3 separate regions of the Homo sapiens genome follow, and regions 2 and 3 are each linked to region 1. Evidence: promoter capture Hi-C in 16 types of primary human blood cells and fetal thymus (Javierre and others, 2016). All regions are on one chromosome and are shown on one strand. The core of a region is centred on a gene start or on the middle of the fragment in contact, and the rest is flanking DNA. Distances in the headings are between cores, read along the strand shown. Region 1 holds the start of ABCC3 (ATP binding cassette subfamily C member 3). Region 2 has its middle 88 kb from the start of TOB1-AS1. Region 3 overlaps SPAG9 (sperm associated antigen 9).

Evidence for each region. The method cuts DNA at HindIII sites, captures the fragments that hold promoters and counts their contacts. A CHiCAGO score of 5 or more calls a contact.
Region 2: a contact is called between a fragment that was not itself captured here and the fragment with the promoter of ABCC3 in region 1, in 2 of 17 cell types (total B cells and naive CD4 T cells). The highest score is 5.7, in total B cells.
Region 3: a fragment that was not itself captured here is called in contact with the fragment with the promoter of ABCC3 in region 1 in 1 of 17 cell types (naive CD8 T cells); the score reaches 5.7 in naive CD8 T cells.

Annotation. Positions count from the first base shown.
Region 1 is chr17:50,632,873-50,636,130 of GRCh38, reverse strand. It overlaps ABCC3 (ATP binding cassette subfamily C member 3), which reads right to left and starts at 1,250. Exons shown (of 31, transcript NM_003786.4): 1 at 1,150-1,250. The coding sequence starts at 1,194. RefSeq lists a silencer at 1,231-1,280. The HindIII fragment of the contact is 5,138 bases long and covers 1-3,258 here.
Region 2 is chr17:50,953,084-50,956,154 of GRCh38, reverse strand. No RefSeq gene overlaps it. Among named protein-coding and RNA genes, the nearest start is that of TOB1-AS1, 88 kb to the right of the region's middle. RefSeq lists enhancers at 901-1,581, 1,582-2,262, 1,074-2,273. The HindIII fragment of the contact is 9,104 bases long and covers 1-3,071 here.
Region 3 is chr17:50,971,470-50,974,936 of GRCh38, reverse strand. It overlaps SPAG9 (sperm associated antigen 9), which reads left to right. Exons shown (of 30, transcript NM_001130528.3): 28 at 1-166. Among named protein-coding and RNA genes, the nearest start is that of TOB1-AS1, 110 kb to the right of the region's middle. The HindIII fragment of the contact is 1,984 bases long and covers 497-2,480 here.

The DNA of each region.
Region 1 (3,258 bases), core at 1-2,500:
ATGACCACAGAGAAGCACCTTTAATCTGAGCTCCCTCTGTAAAACGGAGACCACATGATCACTTGCCTCATAGAGGCAAGTAAGTTTTGCAAGTTGGTAAGAAAGCTCCTAGGCTGTATGCACTTAGCTCACCTGAACTGTGCTGGAGGCTGGAGTCAGCAGGCTGAAGAGCAGCCTGTCTTAGAAAGAGATTTGGAGTGAGAGTCACCAAAGGCTTGATTTTCTTTTCTTATTTATTTATTTTTTTAGAGACAGGGTCTCACTCTTTCGCCCAGGCCACAGTGCAGTGGTGCGATCATAGCTCACAGTAATCTAAAACTCCTGGGCTGAAGTGATCCTCCCACCTCTGCCTCCCAAAGGGTGGGATTACAGGCGTGAACCACTGCACCTGGCCTGTAGCCTGTTTTTCTATCCCAGCTCTGCCTTCATTGAACTGGGTAACTTTGGGCAAGTCCCTTCCTCTCTCTGGGCCTCCCTTTCTCCATCTGTGAGAAGGGAGTTGGACTACAGGAATCCTGACACCCTGCACCTGTCTCCAGACTGGGGTCTGCTTCTCCCTTCTGAGTCCGGAGTGGTGGGGATGGCCTGCTCTCAGACCTCAGTCTTACCTAGAGAAAAGAAGGTGGCAGGAAACCTTCCTAAGAAGGGTGGGACACTGCACAGCCGGCCTCCCAAAACACCTGGTTGAGCAGGTGCTCTGGATGCCCTGGGGGCAATCCATGCCCAGGTGGGCAACCGAGTCCTAACCTGAGGCAGATGCTGAGGGAAGACCCTCCATCAGGAACCCGCGGCTGATTGCGAAACGCCCCTTCCGCACCCGACGGAGGGGCTGGGATGGAGCCGACTCACCCAGCCACGCACTGTGCCTTTGCGCCCCAGCCGCGCACTCTTCCTCACTTTCCCGGGCTCCCCAGTGCTGCAGCCGGGAAGGGCAGAGCAGGGCAGGTCCCCGACACCGCGTGGGACCCGGCTCCGGGCGGCGCAGCCAACCTCCCTCCCGAGCCCATCGCCCCCTCCCGGGCGCCCAGGCCGTCTCAGGGGCTCCGTCCCGGGATACCTGCCGGCCCCGCGGGAAGGCAGGCGGCGGGGACCGGGCGAAGCCGGCCGACCCTGGCCCCCGCGCAGTGACCCCGGAGCCCCGCGCCTTACCCAGAACTTGGAGCCGAGCTCCCCGGAACCGCACAGGGCGTCCATGGGGCCGAGGCGCGGCTGCAAGGAAGGCGAGCGCGGTCGGACCCAGCGGCGGGCAGAGCGGGCGCCGGAGCCGCCTCCGCCCTCCGCACCCCGCGCTCCGCCCGGACCCGCCCTGCCGAGCCCTACCCCAGTGCCTCTGGGTCCGGTCTCCCTGCCCCCGTCCCGCGGGTTGCGACAGCGCCTCCCTGGGAGGGACTTTGGGGCAGAGGTGGGGGGGCCCTTGGCACGGCGACAGCCCCTGCGAGCGGCCCCTGGGCCAAGCCAGGGGGATGTCTCTCTAAATACCGAGGCTAACAGTCCAGGAGTCGAGTCTATTTCCAAGGGGGAACTGGGATACACAGGCGCTCCCACTCCCGAACAAGTCCGTGGGGCCGATGAGTCATTGAGTAGGGGACGTAGGGAGAGGGATTTAACAATCTTTCCTAGTAAAAAAGGAATCTTTGAGAAGGTCACGTTCCTCTCCGGAGGTCAGTTTCCTCATCTGTAAAATGGGAAGGGCTTCTGTGCTCAATCAGGAAGCTGACCTCTTCCCCATCAGGTTCCAGAGACCACTGGCAGGCGCCACACGGGGAGCACACGGGGTGTGCTCCGCGGGTGTGTACCCGTGAGGCGGGGGTGGGGGCCGCAGCATCGTCCAGCGGGGGCCTCTTATGTCCTCTTAAACTGCTGCCCTCTTAGGCTCTGTGGCTCCCTGACCTTGCCACATCACCTCGGCACGTCTCTGGGCCTCTACTTTCACATCCGTAAAATAGAGACAATCATAGAAGAGAATCTTCCTCCCAGGGTTCTCTGAGGATTGAATGGAAAGGGTAGGCAAAGCGTATTTCCTGGCACACTTAGTGGGCACCCAACATGTGTGAATTCCCTCTGCTTCAGCCTGATCAGGGTTGGGGGGGGAAGGACAGGTGAAGCCCCAGGAGGAGCCCCACGTGAGTGTCCTCGTCCTCGTCCTCCTCCTAAGGCTGAAACTCTACATTCCTGATCTGTAAAATGGGCTTGTCAGTGCTCTCCTTCTCCTGCTTGCCTCAGCTCTCCTTCTCCCGGTATCCCCTCAGATGCGGGGATCCCTCCATCTCTCAATCCCGCTGTTGCCCTGTCTTCCTTAACACAATCCCAGACGCCAACTCAGCACCGCTTGTTGGGGCTCAGAAGGAATTCTCCCTGGCAAATCTTTCCCTGGCCCTTCTCTTCCCTGCCTTTGCCCACAGGTCTGTCCAGTTTCACCCCGGTGACCCCTTTTCTGGCCCTTGTTCTCAAGAGAAGGTGTTTCCTTCCTTGGCTGCTCAGCGGCAGGTGTGGGTGGGAGCCAGTAAGAGTGCAGAAGGGGCAAGCCACCTCCTATCTCTCTGGGCAGCCAGGAGGTCACTAGAAGGGAAGTCTCCTTGGCTATAGGCTATCAGAACCAAGATCTGGCTGGGCATGGGATAGGGGTGGGAGTGGAGAAGATTCCCCTTTCCCAGGCAGTCAGACCAGGGACTTCTACCCCTCCACTGGGCAAGTTCTTTCAGCCCCTTCTTTGTCTGCCCTCTTCCTTTCCACTCATCCACACATACCCTCCCTCTCCTGTCCCCCTACCTTCATCTCTGGGCAAAATACTTTACAGAGCTTTACACCTTGTTACGGCGTGCCTTGGATTATATTTAGTTATGAAGAGTCTGTCTTCCCTGCTAATCTGAGAGGTCCCCAAGGGCAGGGACTAACTCAGTCCCCTCCAATCCCCCTCCATACCTTTTATACACTGTGTGATCTCAATAAGCTCCTTGATGCCTCTGGGACTTCATTTCTTGAGAAACGTGGACAGGGTGATATCTAAGCTCTCTTCCAGCCCTGGTGGGCCAGGCTTCTATGGCCTAGGCAGCTGGGAACCTTCCTCCACCCCTTCCATGACCCTGGTCATGGCTTCATCAGCACCCACTGCCCCTGTGTTTTGACCTTGTCTACCCACCGGCTTCCTCCAACTCTCCCTCCTCTCCCATTCCTTTTCTAGGGCTTGTGGGGTCATAGGCACCAGATTGCTCTGGGCTTGAGGAGACCTGGGGACTTTCCTTTAGGGCCCTTTGGGAG
Region 2 (3,071 bases), core at 543-3,042, 320 kb before region 1:
CAATTTCTAGTCTTTGAAGTTTCAGAAGAATTTCTGCGGCTGCTGCTTCTGAACAAGGCTAAAAGAAATGTCACGGAATCAGCTTAGTGAGTTGCTTCAATGGAAACTTCATCCAAGGCCGATAATAAATAGCAGTTACATAACTCAGCAGGTCACAGCACTAACTAAGCCCTTTGTAGGCCATCAATCCACATTTATTTCCTGGATTTTATAACTGCTGCTGAAAGGGAGAAAAGGAGGGGCTGAGGATTAGGGGGAGAGAATCTGTGTGCCTGGACGAAACCTCCAAGCCTATTTTCCAGCCTCCTCTCCCATACGCCACCTCTGCAGCTAACTCTCAGGGGGACGTGCCGAGTTCCAGCACATCCAGACACTGTGGCTCCATGCCGGGAAACCAGACCCCTGTCCCAGCTGCCCTGAGTAGCCAAGAGCTTTAGGCTGGTCATTTTCTCTCTGTCCTGTTTTCTGTAAAATGACAGTTGGGCTAGATGAGTTCTAGGATGCTTTTCTGCCCCATGATTCTAAACATTAGGACAGAAGAGTGGGTACCATGTTTGTTTCCCTCACTCCCATGCCCCAGTGTTAGCTGCAAGATGCTGTTGGATCCTCTTGATGGAGACGGGGGAAGAGCATGATCCCAGCCAACTGACACATGGCACAGCAAGGGGGCAGGAGGGTCAAGGCTGCCCTGGCTGGGATGGGGAGCTGGGAGTGCACAGAGTAAAGGGCCCTTGCCGCCTCGGCCTCACTGTCCGGACACCCACATGAGCCAGAGCCAGCATGGACTACACAGCTTCCATGGGCACAGGGGAGTCGGCATAGGCCTGGAGGAAGGGGCGCCTAATAGTAGTGTTCACCATTCTCAAGCCTGGGGAGTTTGATGCCCAGGTTCAGGGCTGTTCCAGAATGCTTAGGTGGGTATGAATGCCCAAAACTGCAGCCGACAGGTCCCAGATGCAGCTTCTGTCTCTCGCCTCTGCTGGGGTCATGGGAGACAGCTCCCCCAGTCTTCTCCACCCTTGCCCAGCCTCCTGTGCAGAGCCACAGGCAGATCCTACCAGCTGGGAATGTCCAGTATGAAGCAGGTTGAGGAAGGGAAGGGCCTGGGGAAGAAATTCACTGGGGAAGAGGGAGGATGTCAGAAGATTTGTGGCATCAGGAAATGACAGGAAAGCCGGAGGGGAGTTGGAGTGGCTGGAGAGGTGAGAGTCCCTGGGCAGAGCCTCTGGTGAGCAGCCTTCGGGTCTGGGTCCGGGGCCCCTTTCCTTCAGGGCCCGGCCGGGCAACTTGCGGGGATGGGATAATGCCTTAGGGAGTCCAGGAGCCCCAGCCCAGACTGCCCCTCTTGGGGTGTGAAGCCCCTGCAAGGGCTGAGTGGCAGAAAGCAAGGGTGGCCGCAGCCACTGAGCATCCCTGGGAAGGGATGGGGCTGTATAGAAGGGGCACCTGGGGACAGGTGGGCAGTCACAGTGTCTCAGCCCGCTGGGACTCACAGCAGAGCTCATCTGTAGAAGAGAAGGTAGAGGTCAGATGTTACATGGGAGGAAATTTCCAATAAAGACAAAAGTGCTTCCGCGGAGAGGGGACCTGGAGATTGGGACTCTGCTCATACTCGCTTCGCTGCACGCGGTCACTGTGGTGTCCTTGCATCCCTCTTGCCCCTCCCTCAGCGCTCTGCCCTTCCCCAGTTCCTGCTGCTTCCTCTGCAGGAACAGCTGCATGTCTGGGCTTGTCAGGGAGTCAGCTGCGTCTCCAGACACAGACGCAGGAGGCCCAGCACCACCCCCAGCCTGATGCCGTCACTGAGGTTTGGAAGGTGGTGGTCTCCTCCCTGTTAAACTGAGACCCAGAGAGGGGGAGTGTGTTTTAATTCCCCAGACCCAACAAGTGAGTAGTGCCAGAAAGGGCCCTCGGGGTCCCATCTCTCCAGGCGGCCTCAGGTCAGTTCCCTCCCGCTGTGGTAGCCTCATCAGCTAATTCTGCCTCTGTTGGATCAGCCAGCAAGGCAATGCTCAAGGGGGCTGGGTGGCGACTCCAATTTGGGTGCACCAGCCAGTCCCAGGGGTGAAGGCAGTGACTTATTTGGGAATTATTTTTGTAGAGGAGACACTTGACTCCACGGCTGTTGAGGCTGAAGCTACCCAAGTGACCCCTGAGCTGAGTGGCAGGGAGGGCTGGCGGCTCCTGGACTCAGCTTCACACCACCTCCCAAGGTGTTCTCAGCCATGCCCCTACCTCTGCACAGGGCCACTCCTAAACAAATCCTCCTGCCTCCCTGGAGCTTGAAGGAGGTGCTTTGCCTCCCATCCTCTCCGCAGTCTCCTCTCCCCTCGGGGATTGGTCACGTGGAACCCTGTTGGAGCCTGAGGGGTGAGATGGTGAGTGCCCAGAGGGCAACGGTGGCTGGCTCCTTCCAGAGCCCACTTTTTCTTTCTTTCTTTCTTTCTTTCTTTTTTTTTTTTTGTTTCTTGGGACAGGGTCTCCCCTCTGTCGCCCAGGCTGGAGTGCAGTGACACAATCATAGTTCACTGCAGCCTCAACCTCCCAGGCTGGAGCTATCCACCTACATCAGCCCTCCGGGCAGCTGGGACTACAGGCACACACCACCACACCCAGCTAATTTTTTTTTTATTTTTTGCAGAATCAGTGTTTCGCCATGTTGCCCAGGCTGGTCTCGAACTCCTGAGCTCAAGTGATCCTCCTATCTCAGATTCCCAAAGTGCTGGGATTACAGGTGTGAGCCACCATGCCTGGGTTTTCCTTGTTGATAAATGAGCATGGGATTGTTCTAGAGAAACTGTGCCATGAGCTGGGTGGGACAGGAGCATCAAGATCATTTCAGAAAGTTCTCTCGTGAAAGCCAAAATATGTGCCTACTCCACCTCTGCCCGCTAGCTACCATGTCCCAGGCCAAAAAGTCCTTAGGAGAGGAGAATCCCATGCAACTGTGGAGTGTGTGCTGGGCCCAGTCCTGGGTTCCTCATCCATTGCCTGCCTTAATCCCCAAGGCGGCTGTGGGGCACAGATTTCCCCATTTGACAGGACACCTCAACCAGCGGTTCTCAACCTCA
Region 3 (3,467 bases), core at 239-2,738, 340 kb before region 1:
TCAGGTGTACCAGGAAATCGTCCTGGAAGTGTAATCCGTGTATATGGTGATGAAAACAGTGATAAAGTGACTCCAGGGACATTTATACCCTATTGTTCAATGGCACATGCACAGCTTTGCTTCCATGGGCACCGGGATGCTGTGAAATTCTTTGTGGCAGTCCCAGGTATGTTAGATTATTCTGTTGAGATGTTCCATGTAATTGTCTCTCTTCTGTCATCTCTTGGTTCCACTACCTAATAGTCTAAGGCTAAGTACTCGAATTGCAGGTAATTTCAATATATACGAAGGAAGTTCTGTAATGGAGGTGTGACTAAGGTGCTATAGGGATACTTGAATGAAGTTACTTTGGAATATCTCTCCCACCCCCAAAGATAAATTTGTTGATTTTTCTTTAGGAGACTTGCTTACTTTTGAAAAGCAGTAGTATTATTTTATCATCGTGGATTGCCAAAAATGGTCTTGACCTAATAAGAGAAATCACTAGAAAGAAGCTTCTATCATCAAGGCTGCATGGAGGAAGAGAGAATGCACTCTGGTACCTTTAGCAGCTTAATAGGAAAAAGCAGTGAACTAGGAGGCCTGGGGGTCTGGCCCCTGTGTCTCTGCCACTAACCTCGAGCAAGGCACTTAACCTCAGAGACTCATTTCCTCACTCCTAGGTGGATGTGATTAATATCTGCTCTGCCTACTTCATTTGTTATGAAAATTAATGAAAATGCTACTGGGAGCTATAAAGCACCACCCAGAAAAAAGATGGAAGTGATGATGTCCAGTGAAAAATGACAAATTATCCATTGACAATACTTAAGTGATGTCACTGACCATCTGTAAGCAGGACACAGGTTTTGAATTTTTTTTTCCCATAAGAGGCAAGTTTAGGAGCTAGACGAAGTTCAGATCTGACTTTCCCCCACCAACTAACTGTGTGATGTAGTATATTAGTCAGGGTTCTTCAGAGAAACAGAACCAATAGGATGCATGTGTATGTGCGTATGAAGAGAGAGTTACTGTTAAGAAATTGGGTCACACAGTTGTGGGGACTAGCAGGTCTGAAATCTGCAGGGCAGGCTGGCAGGCTGGAGACCCCGGGAAGAGTGGATGTTGCAGTCCAAATCTGAAAGCAGTCTGGAGGCAACATTTCTCTTTCCTCTGGATCCCTCAGTCTTTTTCTTCTAAGGCTTTCAACTGGTTAAATGAGGCCCACCCACACTGTGGCGTGTAATCTGCTTTACTCAAAGTCTGTTGTTTTAAATGTTAATCACATCTAAAAAAGACTTACAATGATATCTAGACTGGTGTTTGACCAAATATCTGGGTATCGAGCTAACACGTCAAATTACTCATCATACTTATTTTCCCAAGGGTCTTCCAAAGATTAAATGATTTTATGTACATGGGGCAAGGGCTGGCATATGGTACCCTAAGCAATTATTCAGTTATTCTTAACAACAGTGATAATGAGCTTTCTGAAACCTCATTTGTACATTTTATATATTTGTATAGTCATTTCCTTCCTAGAAATGGGATTGCTGGTAACAGTGTTTCTCTTGCTTAAAAAAAAATGAAATATCACAGTTTCCTTTAAATCTCCTTTGTATCCCTCTCCAATCCCATTCTCCTCTCCTTTTCCTCTCCATTGGTAACCACTATCTTGAAGTCGATGCAAATCCTCTTGCCCCTGTTTTTGTATTTTTACTATGTTTGAATGTGTTTATAAACAATGTATGATTGTTTTGTGGTTTTGGACTTTACATGTTAAATGTTGTGTTTTATATGTATGCTTCTACAACTTGCTTCTCATTTTTTGAGATTTATCAATGTTCATACATAAAAATCTAGTTTATTCATTTAACTGGTATTATAACTGAATAAAAGTGCTACATTTTATTCATTCTTCTGTTGATGGACCTCTAGGCTTCTCCCCTTTCTTTTTTCACTATTAAAAACAATACTGAAGCAGACCTTCTTGTGTGCATGTGTAAGGATTTTTTGTTGGGTATAAATCTAAAAGTGGAATTAGCAACATGGTTGTTGCGAGGCCAGTTGGCCCTAAAGATTAAACCATTCTGGTTGGCCTTATCAGTAATACCACTGTGCTCTTGCTTCTGTGGCAGAACTAACTCGTCTACCAACAGAAGTCATTGCTGGCATGCTTGATTTCTTCCAAAGTATAATTGAGTAATGCATGAATGAATCCCTGTGGGGATACGTCAGACTATCCTATCCACTTTCAACATACATTAATTTTGTTACAGTGTGTCGCATTAATGGCTGTCCAGCTAGCTCCTGGAGGCGCAGTCTGTGTAGTTTGACCAAAGGACAGCAGATTCTGACAAGGAAAAAAATATCCCACAATTAAATCTTGCTAAGAGGGTTGGCTTAGAGATTGCTCATTTGTTCATAGTTGTGAATAATATTTAAAGGTTTCTCTCTTTCTATTATTTCACACTCAAGGATTCTACCTTAGAACTTAAGCTTTAGAACAAACAGCACATTTACTAGTAATTTTGTTTGCATAATCTAAATTAAAAATAACCTGTATTTTCCTTAAATATGAGAGGAAAGCCATAGATTTGAAATAAATTTAAATGTTAATTATGACTATGCAAACTCATAGGGCTTAAGTTGAAGACTTTTCTCAGTCTCTTACACAAATAAGCACATTCCTTTTCAAGGGAGAGACCTTTTCCACTGTCTTCTCAGATCAAAAGATTTAGACTATAATAGTTTGAAGCAGGTAGGCTGTGCATGGTGGCTCACACCTGTAATTCCACAACTTGGAAATCAAGGCAGGAGGATCACTTGAGCCCAGGAGTTTGAGACCAGCCTGGGCAAACATAGCAAGACTTCATTAAAAATTTTTAAGAGACCAGGCACAGTGTCTCATGCCTGTAATCCCAGCACTTTGGGAGGCCTAGGTGGGTGGATCACTTGAGGTCAGGAGTTTGAGACCAGCCTGACCAACTTGGTGAAACCCCATCTCTACTAAAATACAAAAATTAGCCGGGCGTTGTGGCAGGCACCTGTAATCGCAACTACTTGGGAGGCTGAGGCAAGAGAATTGTTTGAACCCCAGAGGCGAAGGTTGCAGTGAGCCGAGATCGCGCCATTGCACTCTAACCTGGGCCACAAGAGCGAAACTCTGTCTCAAAAATAAATAAATAAAGTAATTTGGGCCAGGTGCAGTGGCTCATGCCTGTATTCCCAGCACTTTGGGAGGCCGAGGCAGGCAGATCATGAGGTCAGGAGATTGAGACCATCCTGGCTAACACGGTGAAACCCTGTCTCTACTGAAAAAGTTAGCCGGGCATGGTGGCACGTGCCTGTAGTCCCAGCCACTCAGGAGGCTGAGGCAGGTAAATCGCTTGAACCCGGGAGGCGGAGGTTGCAGTGAGCCAAGATTGTGCCACTGCACTCCAGCCTGGGCGACAGAGCAAGACTCCATCTCAAAAAAAAAAAAAAAA